Linked DNA regions of Homo sapiens: all the other regions are linked to region 2. The links are contacts of gene promoters, found by promoter capture Hi-C in blood cells and fetal thymus (Javierre and others, 2016). All regions are on one chromosome and are shown on one strand. The core of a region is centred on a gene start or on the middle of the fragment in contact, and the rest is flanking DNA. Distances in the headings are between cores, read along the strand shown. Region 1 holds the start of BMAL2 (basic helix-loop-helix ARNT like 2). Region 2 holds the start of BHLHE41 (basic helix-loop-helix family member e41). Region 3 holds the start of MRPS35 (mitochondrial ribosomal protein S35).

Evidence for each region. The method cuts DNA at HindIII sites, captures the fragments that hold promoters and counts their contacts. A CHiCAGO score of 5 or more calls a contact.
Region 1: a contact is called between the fragment with the promoter of BMAL2 here and the fragment with the promoter of BHLHE41 in region 2, in 1 of 17 cell types (fetal thymus). The highest score is 9.2, in fetal thymus.
Region 3: a contact is called between the fragment with the promoter of MRPS35 here and the fragment with the promoter of BHLHE41 in region 2, in 2 of 17 cell types (fetal thymus and non-activated CD4 T cells). The highest score is 6.7, in fetal thymus.

Annotation. Positions count from the first base shown.
Region 1 is chr12:27,331,501-27,334,200 of GRCh38, forward strand. BMAL2 (basic helix-loop-helix ARNT like 2) reads left to right here and starts at 1,336. Exons shown (of 17, transcript NM_020183.6): 1 at 1,336-1,603. The coding sequence starts at 1,573. LOC124902906 (a long non-coding RNA gene) reads right to left here and starts at 1,297. Exons shown (of 2, transcript XR_007063255.1): 1 at 1,122-1,297. RefSeq lists silencers at 1,220-1,689, 1,710-1,829. The HindIII fragment of the contact is 1,078 bases long and covers 1,170-2,247 here.
Region 2 is chr12:26,123,613-26,126,312 of GRCh38, forward strand. BHLHE41 (basic helix-loop-helix family member e41) reads right to left here and starts at 1,425. Exons shown (of 5, transcript NM_030762.3): 1 at 1,106-1,425; 2 at 907-970; 3 at 460-567; 4 at 18-129. The coding sequence starts at 1,167. It also overlaps a transcript of SSPN not described here. The HindIII fragment of the contact is 3,679 bases long and covers 70-2,700 here.
Region 3 is chr12:27,709,391-27,712,090 of GRCh38, forward strand. MRPS35 (mitochondrial ribosomal protein S35) reads left to right here and starts at 1,442. Exons shown (of 8, transcript NM_021821.4): 1 at 1,442-1,565. The coding sequence starts at 1,454. MRPS35-DT (MRPS35 divergent transcript) reads right to left here and starts at 1,357. Exons shown (of 5, transcript XR_001749448.2): 1 at 1,273-1,357. RefSeq lists enhancers at 873-952, 983-1,062, 1,073-1,862. The HindIII fragment of the contact is 2,856 bases long and covers 1-1,797 here.

The DNA.
Region 1 (2,700 bases), core at 86-2,585, 1.2 Mb after region 2:
GTGGAAGTGAATCATCGTTTCTAAGAAACGGGGACTGCAATGATTCACAGGCAAGCTTACTGGACACCACAATAGGAACTCCTAAGAAGGAGACCTAACTTTTATGGTCTTGCTTCTACTATCTACTAGCTGAGTGATCCTGGCCAAAATACTCGACATCTCTGAACTTCTGTTTCTCTACTAAGACAGGAATTAAGAAAGAGGTTGTGAGGCTCACTGAGCCGATAAGGGGGAAAATGCATTGTAAGCAAGGCCATGTATAGAATAGTATTTACATTTTAACCCAGATCTTAAAGCCCAGGTCTAATTAATTCTACCTGTTACCCCTTGGTAAACCACCTCAAAATAGTGTACACTTGTCTGGAAAGCCAAGGTTTGATCACATTCGGGAAACCCTGTATGGAATTACTGTTTCTAGCTGCCAGGAGAAGTTGGTGTTGGTAGAATTTGGGGTGGAGTTCCAAGTCAAAGCTAGGAATGAGACGTTTCAAGACTGGTTTTGATTAGGGATGTGTCTTGGTGTGTGTTGAGGACAGCACAGTTTTCAGCACGTCTCCCTTACCTCTAAAGTCCTAGCCCCTGCTTAAGCCTGCAACAGTTTTCTCCTGTCATGCCCACTTCTGCTTGGGAACACACTTCCAAACCCTCTGCCCAGCCTCTCACAATGGCCCTAAGTACTGCCCTGAGGACACATAAGGTGCTGGTTAAGACGTTGGAATTGAGTCCTTGTAGGAAAGTTATTACCTTTAGGCTGGTTGCAAAGTTTGATTTGGTGTCTTCTCTACTGTGACTTTCCTTTACTTACTTCTACTAGATTACCAAGGAATGGGTCTAGGGACCAGTGGGAGGGCAGCAAACCAGTGTATTCTAGACACGTGGCCATAGGATGTAGGGCTGTCAAGTGATGCCCAAAAGATCTTGTTTCTGGATTTACCCAACCGTTCCAGGAGGCAAAACGGCTTCCTCGGGACCCTCTCTCTGTCATCTACACTCTCGTCTCTGCAGCTAAGCCCTTCCTTAAGCAGAAAAGAGCAGGGTCTCTCGTCCAGCACCCTCCTCCCCAACCCTAGCCCCGTGCCCTCCGCTAACCCACCGTGCAATTATCTTCATTCATCCTTTACCTTTGCCCCGAGGGTCTAACAACTGCAATCTTCGGAATGCTGGGACAAAGCTTACTATGAGCATGGAAGCCTGTTTTCAATAGGGTGGTTGCTAGAAGGACTCAACTGGCCTTTTAGTGCTTTGCTGCTCGCGGGAGGGCTCGGCGGGGCGGTGTCCGCAGCGACTCCGCCCTTGGCCCGGGTCTCTTTCCCGCCGGGAAGCCCCGCGGCGCCCAGAGCGGCGGGCGGCTGGCTCCAGTCCGCATGCTCAGTAGCTGCTGCCGGCCGGGCTGCGGGGCGGCGTCCCGTGCGCGCCTACGGGCTGCGGTGGCGGCCGCCGCGGCACCCGGCAGGGCCCGCCAGTCCCCGCTTCCCTGCTCCAGAGCCGCCGCCTGGGCCGGGGCAGGGCGGGCCCGGGGCTCCTCCATGCTGCCAGCCGCGGGGCTGCGGAGCCGACCAAGTGGCTCCTGCGATGGCGGCGGAAGAGGAGGCTGCGGCGGGAGGTGAGGTTGCCGGTGGCGAGGCGACGGCCCCAGGTGGGCGCGCGGCGTCTGACGCGCTGGGGGCGTCCCCGCGACGCCAGGTCTGCCCCCGCTGCCCCGAGGGAAGCGCCCGCGCCTGTCCTCTCGGGCCGGAGCATCGCCTCCGAGGGGCGGTGGGACAAGGCCGCCCCGTGGGGCACAGGTGCGGCGCGGCGCCCGGCGCGTCCTCCCGGGGAGCGGGACGCGGGGAGGGGAGCTGGGGTCGCCGCCGGCGCTCAGGACGCGGTGTCTTGGTCCCGGGCCGGGCGCATTGGCGAAAGGGAGCCAGCGGGGGACCTTGCACCCGGCGCTGGGAGCATCCGCCTCCACCCACTGCTGGGCGCCCGCGTCGGCGTCGGCATGGCATGCACTGCTGCGGGGACTTCCTATATTTCTTCTTTCTTTTGTGTAAACCAGTTGTCAGCAGCCTCGGACCTAGCCCGGTTCCTGTGAACCCCTCCCCTCTGAGCTGATAATACTCGCGGCTTCCCGGCTTGAACCGCTGCCCCGCGGTGGAGCGCGCAGGTGGGCAGGTGCGCGTGGACGCGGGGCCACACTCCGGGATCGCAGCCCGCTCCGCGACAGCCCTCCATAAGCGACAGGCGGCTCGTGTCTTTCACCGCTGAAGCTTCAGGAAAGCCGTCAGTGGAGTTAGCTTGTTCGATTATGTATTTCTGTGGTATTTTTGTGAATGGAGTTGGAAGTTTGCGGTGCTTTTTCCTTCTCGCTAGTATTCACTGGCAGTATTCTGTAGTTCCTTACAACGGGGCCTTTGGGACCACTGCTCACAATTACGGAATGAATACAAAATAGCTGTTGTTTAAGACAAATGAGAGGCAGGAAAACAGAAATAACTGAAGGAAGACTGGCAGAGAAGTTCAGGGAAGCAGTTAATTCTCCCCTTTCCTTTTGGAATAAGATGATAGAGTTTTAGATTCTTCTCTGAAATAAGGCAATGAGAGGAGGTGGCTTTCGAAATTCTAATATAATTGTGGGAATTTACATCATGGGGCGATTTCAGAAATTCGATCATTTGAATATTCGTAGTCTTAGGTAAACCCTTTGTTGAAAATAGAAGA
Region 2 (2,700 bases), core at 175-2,674:
TCCCTGAACTGACTTACCATTCTGTAAAGCAATTATCTTCTGATGCTGTTGCTCGGTTAAGGCGGTTAAAGCTTTTAAGTGTTTCAAAGTTAATTCCAAGACTACAGCTTTCTCCAGATGTCCCAGAGTCTGCAGTGGTGCAAAAAAGAAACGGGCACTTGGTTACTTAAAAACACACATTTGGCTTAATTGGCTGTCCATTCAGCACAGCAATTTAAGCAAACACTTTGAAAGAAGTACTGTTCTTTTACTTCTTGAGCTTTCCACAAGACAGGTTATAAATGATTTCTTGCCTTCAGCTGGGAGCACCTACTCCAGTTTGCGGGAAACTCTGTACGGTATAGCACAAGTTTTAAGTCAGGAACTTATATTTACATTTATTCTTATATTTTCTGGGAGTCGCACCAGACTATTAACACGCCCTTGGAGAGCAGCAAAGAATGAAAATGTGCATCTTACTGTCAATTTCAGATGTTCAGGCAGTAAATCTTTCAGCTGAGCAATGCATTCATTAATTCGGTCTCTTCTTTTCTTTTCTATTAATCTGTGCGGTAATTTGTAGGTATCCTTAATATATGAGAGTCATGGAAAAGAGAAAACAGTAAGCGAAACATTCACTTATTGGATATTACCCTCGTCTGCCCCCCCCGCCCCCCCACCATAAAACATACTATGTGATAAACTACACCCAAGAAACCTCTTTCCTCTGGACTGTTCTGCAATGCAATTTAAATTCAGGTATGATGTTTAATATCCCCCTGAGAGTACCCAGCAAGCCACTTAAAATTCACAGTTGGGGAAGCTCAGGGGCTGGAATATATTTGCGGGCAGAGCTTCACTGTGAAATCAATGGCTCTAATTAACTACCCATGCAGGTTATGAGGAATATCGGGAACTTACACTTACCTTGGTGTCGTCTCGTTTCATGCTCCTTTTGGGTTTACACATATACAAAGAGGAATAGTCCAGTCTGCAAAACAGAAATCAGCATCAGGCACCCATTCGGGGAGGGGCTCTGCCCTCGCCAGCTCCATACCACTTTCTGGAGAAGAAAAAAATCAAACCAAAGCCTAGACAGATATTCGCAAGGGTGCGTGCACCTTACCCTATAAAATCTCTATGTTCCAGTAACTGTCTCTCTTGCAAATGAGGAATTCCTTCGTCCATGTTCAACTGCTGTTCGTTTCCTCTGTTTCGATTTTTGGGGCTCTGTACAATAATCTGTGGGACGGTAGGCTTGGGAGACCTTGGGGGGATCTGTGCGTCTCCAGTCTCTCTCTCGCTCTCCCTCTTCAGTGCAGTGTTGAAAGTGTGAAGCAGTTGGTCCCCCCCCTCCACCGCGCTCGCACACACACACGCACACACACGCACACTCGCGCCGGCCCCACTGCGCTGGTAGTTTGCTCTCACTCCAGGCAGTGTTTGGCCACAGGGCACGCGCGTCGCCGGCCAGACCAGCACCCAGCTCACGTGCGGAACGTACCATCCGCGGTCCAGCCCGGAGGGGGGCGGGGGAGGAGGGGCCGGGCCGGGCGGGGGCGTCGGGAGAAGGCGGCGAGAGAAGGCGAACGGCAGGAGGGGGCGGGGACACCTGATCAGGGCCACCGGAAAGGAAAAACAACTTCGGCCAAGCTATTCATCTTCCCAAAGGCGATGCAGTCGGCAGGAGGAGGGGGGAGTGGGGGTGCAGGGGTGCGGGGCAGCCTGAGCTTCCTTGGCTCCAAAATGCGACTCCCTGGGTTCGTCCGTTGTTACGGTGCAGGAATGTGAACGTGGCTTTTTGCTTTTCCACCGATTGTGCTGTTGGTTTGAACCATAGAAAGGAAGTGAAAAGAGAATTCGCGGTGGGTAAACTTGAGTCCCAAAGGAAATTTTGGAGACTTGTTTGCTCACTGATCAGTGGCCTGGAGGGACTCCTTGGCGCTGGGTGGAGAGGTTGCCTCGAGAAGAAGCAACTTGCAATCCGCTCCTTGAAGGATTTAAGATACATGAAAACGTTGTCACTGGGTCCGAATGTCGCAATCCAAGTGTCTTTCGGTGACACGGCGTCCCTGGGCCAACTAAACTTCCCCGCAGCAGCCGGAATTGCGGTGCCACTAATCACAGCAGCAGATGACGACGTTTGGGGCCGCGTGTGCTCCTGGAGGAACGCGGCGGGGAGCGAGCCGGGGTTGAGTGGGGGCTGGGAAGGGAGAAGGGGGTGGCACGAGAGGGGGTGGCACGAGAGGGGCTACCACAGAAAAGCTATGCAGCATTTATCACCCGCCCGCTCAACTCTGCCGCGTTCTGAGCCTCCGGTGACGCTACGTGCTTTCCCCATCCCCCCGCCCCCCCGCGCGATAAGAGACGCCCGGAGTGTGCAGAGCCCACGTTTACTACCGCTGGCACCTCCAAAGCCTCCCTCCTTAATCCGGTCTCAAACGGGTACCAGCACAGGGCCAGCAACGTGATCCGACCTGCCGCTGCTGCCACATCACTGCTCGGGGAACCCGTGCGCGCGCGCGCTCGCCCTGCAGCCGCGGCGCTCGGCGCCGGGAATCACAGGCCAGCAAGAGCCGGGTTACCTTTCCCCAGAGCCACCCTGGGAGCATGACTCACTGCTAGTGAGAGTTACCGGGAGGTGCCCGGGGATGCGCACTGCCCACGCCGCCCTGCCAGCCCAGGGGAAGGCATGTCCTGAGGGACTCCCAGGGGTGGGAT
Region 3 (2,700 bases), core at 192-2,691, 1.6 Mb after region 2:
GCCAAGAGTTTGGGACCAGCCTGGACAACATAGCAAGACCCCCAACTCTACAAAAAACTTAAAAATAGAAAAAATAGGCCAGGTGCAGTAGCTCACGCCTGTAGTCCTATCACTTTTTTGGGAGGCCAAGGCAGGAGGATCGCTTGAACCCAAGAGTTTGAGACCAGCCCTGGCAACACTGTGAGACCTCATCTCTGGAAAAACAATTTTTTTTTTAATTAGCTGGGTGTGGTGGTGCGTGCCTGTAGCCTCAGCTACTTGAAAGGCTGAGGTAGGAGGATCACTTGAGCCTGGGAGGTCAAGGCTGCAGTGGGCCATGGTCCTGCTACCACATTCCAGCCTAGCAACAGAGCAAGACTCTGTCTCAAAAATAATAATAATTAATTAATTAATTAAAATAATTTTTAAAATAAAGAGAAAATAGAGAATTTATTTTATTTTATTTTATTTTTGAGGCGGAGTTTTGCTTTTATTGCCCAGGCTGGAGTGCAATGGCGCGATCTCGGCTCATCGCAACCTCTGCCTCCCGGGTTCATGCGATTCTTCTCTCGAGTAGCTGGGATTACAGGCATGTGCCACCACACCCGGCTAATTTTGTATTTTTAGTAGAGACCAGGTTTCTCCATGTTGGTCAGGCTGGTCCCAAACTCCTGACCTCAGGTGATCCACCCGCCTCGGGATCCCAAAGTGCTGGGATTACAGGCGCGAGCCACCGCGTCCGGCCGAGAATTGTTTTATTAAGGCTTGTATGTTAATTCATCCTACCGTAGAAAATTTAAGAGTGTTCATTAAAAGTTTATTTTCTAGGTCCTGATGAGTTCTGACTTTCTGTAATTCTAAGCTGATCTAACAACAAGCTAACCATATATAGCTAAAAGTTATAGGCTACGTACACGCGGTGTTCACTGTATGCCAACGCTGTACACAAATATTTGTCTATGCTAACTTGTCTGAGATCATACATCCCAGAAGTGGTGAAGTCAAGTTTGAAACCCAAGCACTCTGGCTCGGGATACTGCTTCTCTCCCCTTAGCGCATATTACTGGCATTAGTTGAAGACTTCTTTAATCCAAGTAAATGTAGAAAAGCAACAATTATAAATAACAAGAGTCCCTCGGGTAGACCGCCTGACTCTCGGATCAACTGAGGTTCCACCCAGAGCACGCCCGCCTTCAGTGAGCCGCAACCCCTATCCCTACGGTCTTTATCTGCAATTCTCTACGAACTGATTCACTCGATTTTTAAGGATTTTTTTTGTTTTCTTTTCATTACTTCTTTCAGTTTGGGGGAATCTTCCTGCACATTTGACTCGGCTCTGAGTGCGCAGACCAACGTGTTTCCTCTTTCTCCAGCCTAGGGCGGTGCCAGCCCAGGGAGCCTGCGCTTAGCGGCCCCAGGCCCGCCCCTGACACTGAACGCCGCTTGTCCCCTCCGGCTTGCCGTCCTCGCAGCCATGGCGGCCGCCGCGCTCCCAGCATGGCTGTCTCTGCAGTCGAGGGCAAGGACTCTGCGTGCATTCTCCACTGCCGTCTACTCGGCCACTCCGGTCCCGACACCTAGCCTGCGTGAGTGTCTGTCTCGTCTTCTCTGGGCTTTGGGGGAGGTGCAAGAGCGGAATACCGGCCTCATGAAGGGTGCCGCGGTGGCTGAGCCAGCGCCGCCCGGGGGAGGCCAGTGCGTCCGCTGCCAGGCCCGTCTGGTAGGAAAACCATGGACGTGGGTCTGTGCTCTGCACCCGCGTTGCCCGGCTTCTAGCCGCCTGTTTCTGCCCTGGGTGCTCTGGGAGTTTGCTCAGAAAGCTTACATCCCCCTTCCCCGTGACCTGCTCCTGTGTTGCCCCCGTCCACAGCCCCTGGCACAGGTTACTGGTGCTGTGTTGTTTATCGGGCATCGGCGCTGTTGAACCATGGATTTCCCCAAACATTAAGAGAGTCATACGGCTGTGCTAGGACAAATTGCTGCTCTGAATTCCAGGCCACCAAATGGGCGGCCTTCATTCAACAGGCGTTGATGACCTCCATTTAACAGAGATTGTAGGGATGCTTGATAGCGTGCTTACCCCGGAGGACTCTAGTGGAAAATACAGATTTATTAGCGGAGAAGTGCTATGTAGGGTGAGAGGCGCTGTGATAGAAGTGTGGCTAGAATGACGGGAGCGTTGAGGAGGAGCTGGCGTGAGTCTAATCAATAGGCGGATCCTACCTGTGCTACTTCCTGTTATATCTCTAATTTACTCTCCTCATACTACCAACTATCTAGTTCAGGTGACCATCTCATTTCTACAAGTTTTTTTTCCGTTTCCTGTTTCCCCTCTTGCTCTCCTACATTGAATTCTCAAAACAGCCAAATGAGGTTTTCAAAATTTAGATCTTGTCTTGCTGCTCTCATGTTCAAGATCTACAAATGGTTTCCCATTGTTTTCAGATAAACTATAAATACATTAATCCTTCATACTGGCTCTTCATAGGTCTAATAATTGTCTATTTTTAAATTTTCATTCTTAAATTCTTGGAATACTTAACTCCTATTGTATACCATGCAGTGTTCTAGACACTCACCGGAGATACGGCAAGGTGGGGAAGTCAATAGTATAAACAACCAAACAACTAAATAAGATGTCAGATAGGGTTTAATGCTTTGAAGAAAAATAAAGTAGAGTATTGAGAATGATGGATTTGGGGGGAGTAGTGGCCACAGGAT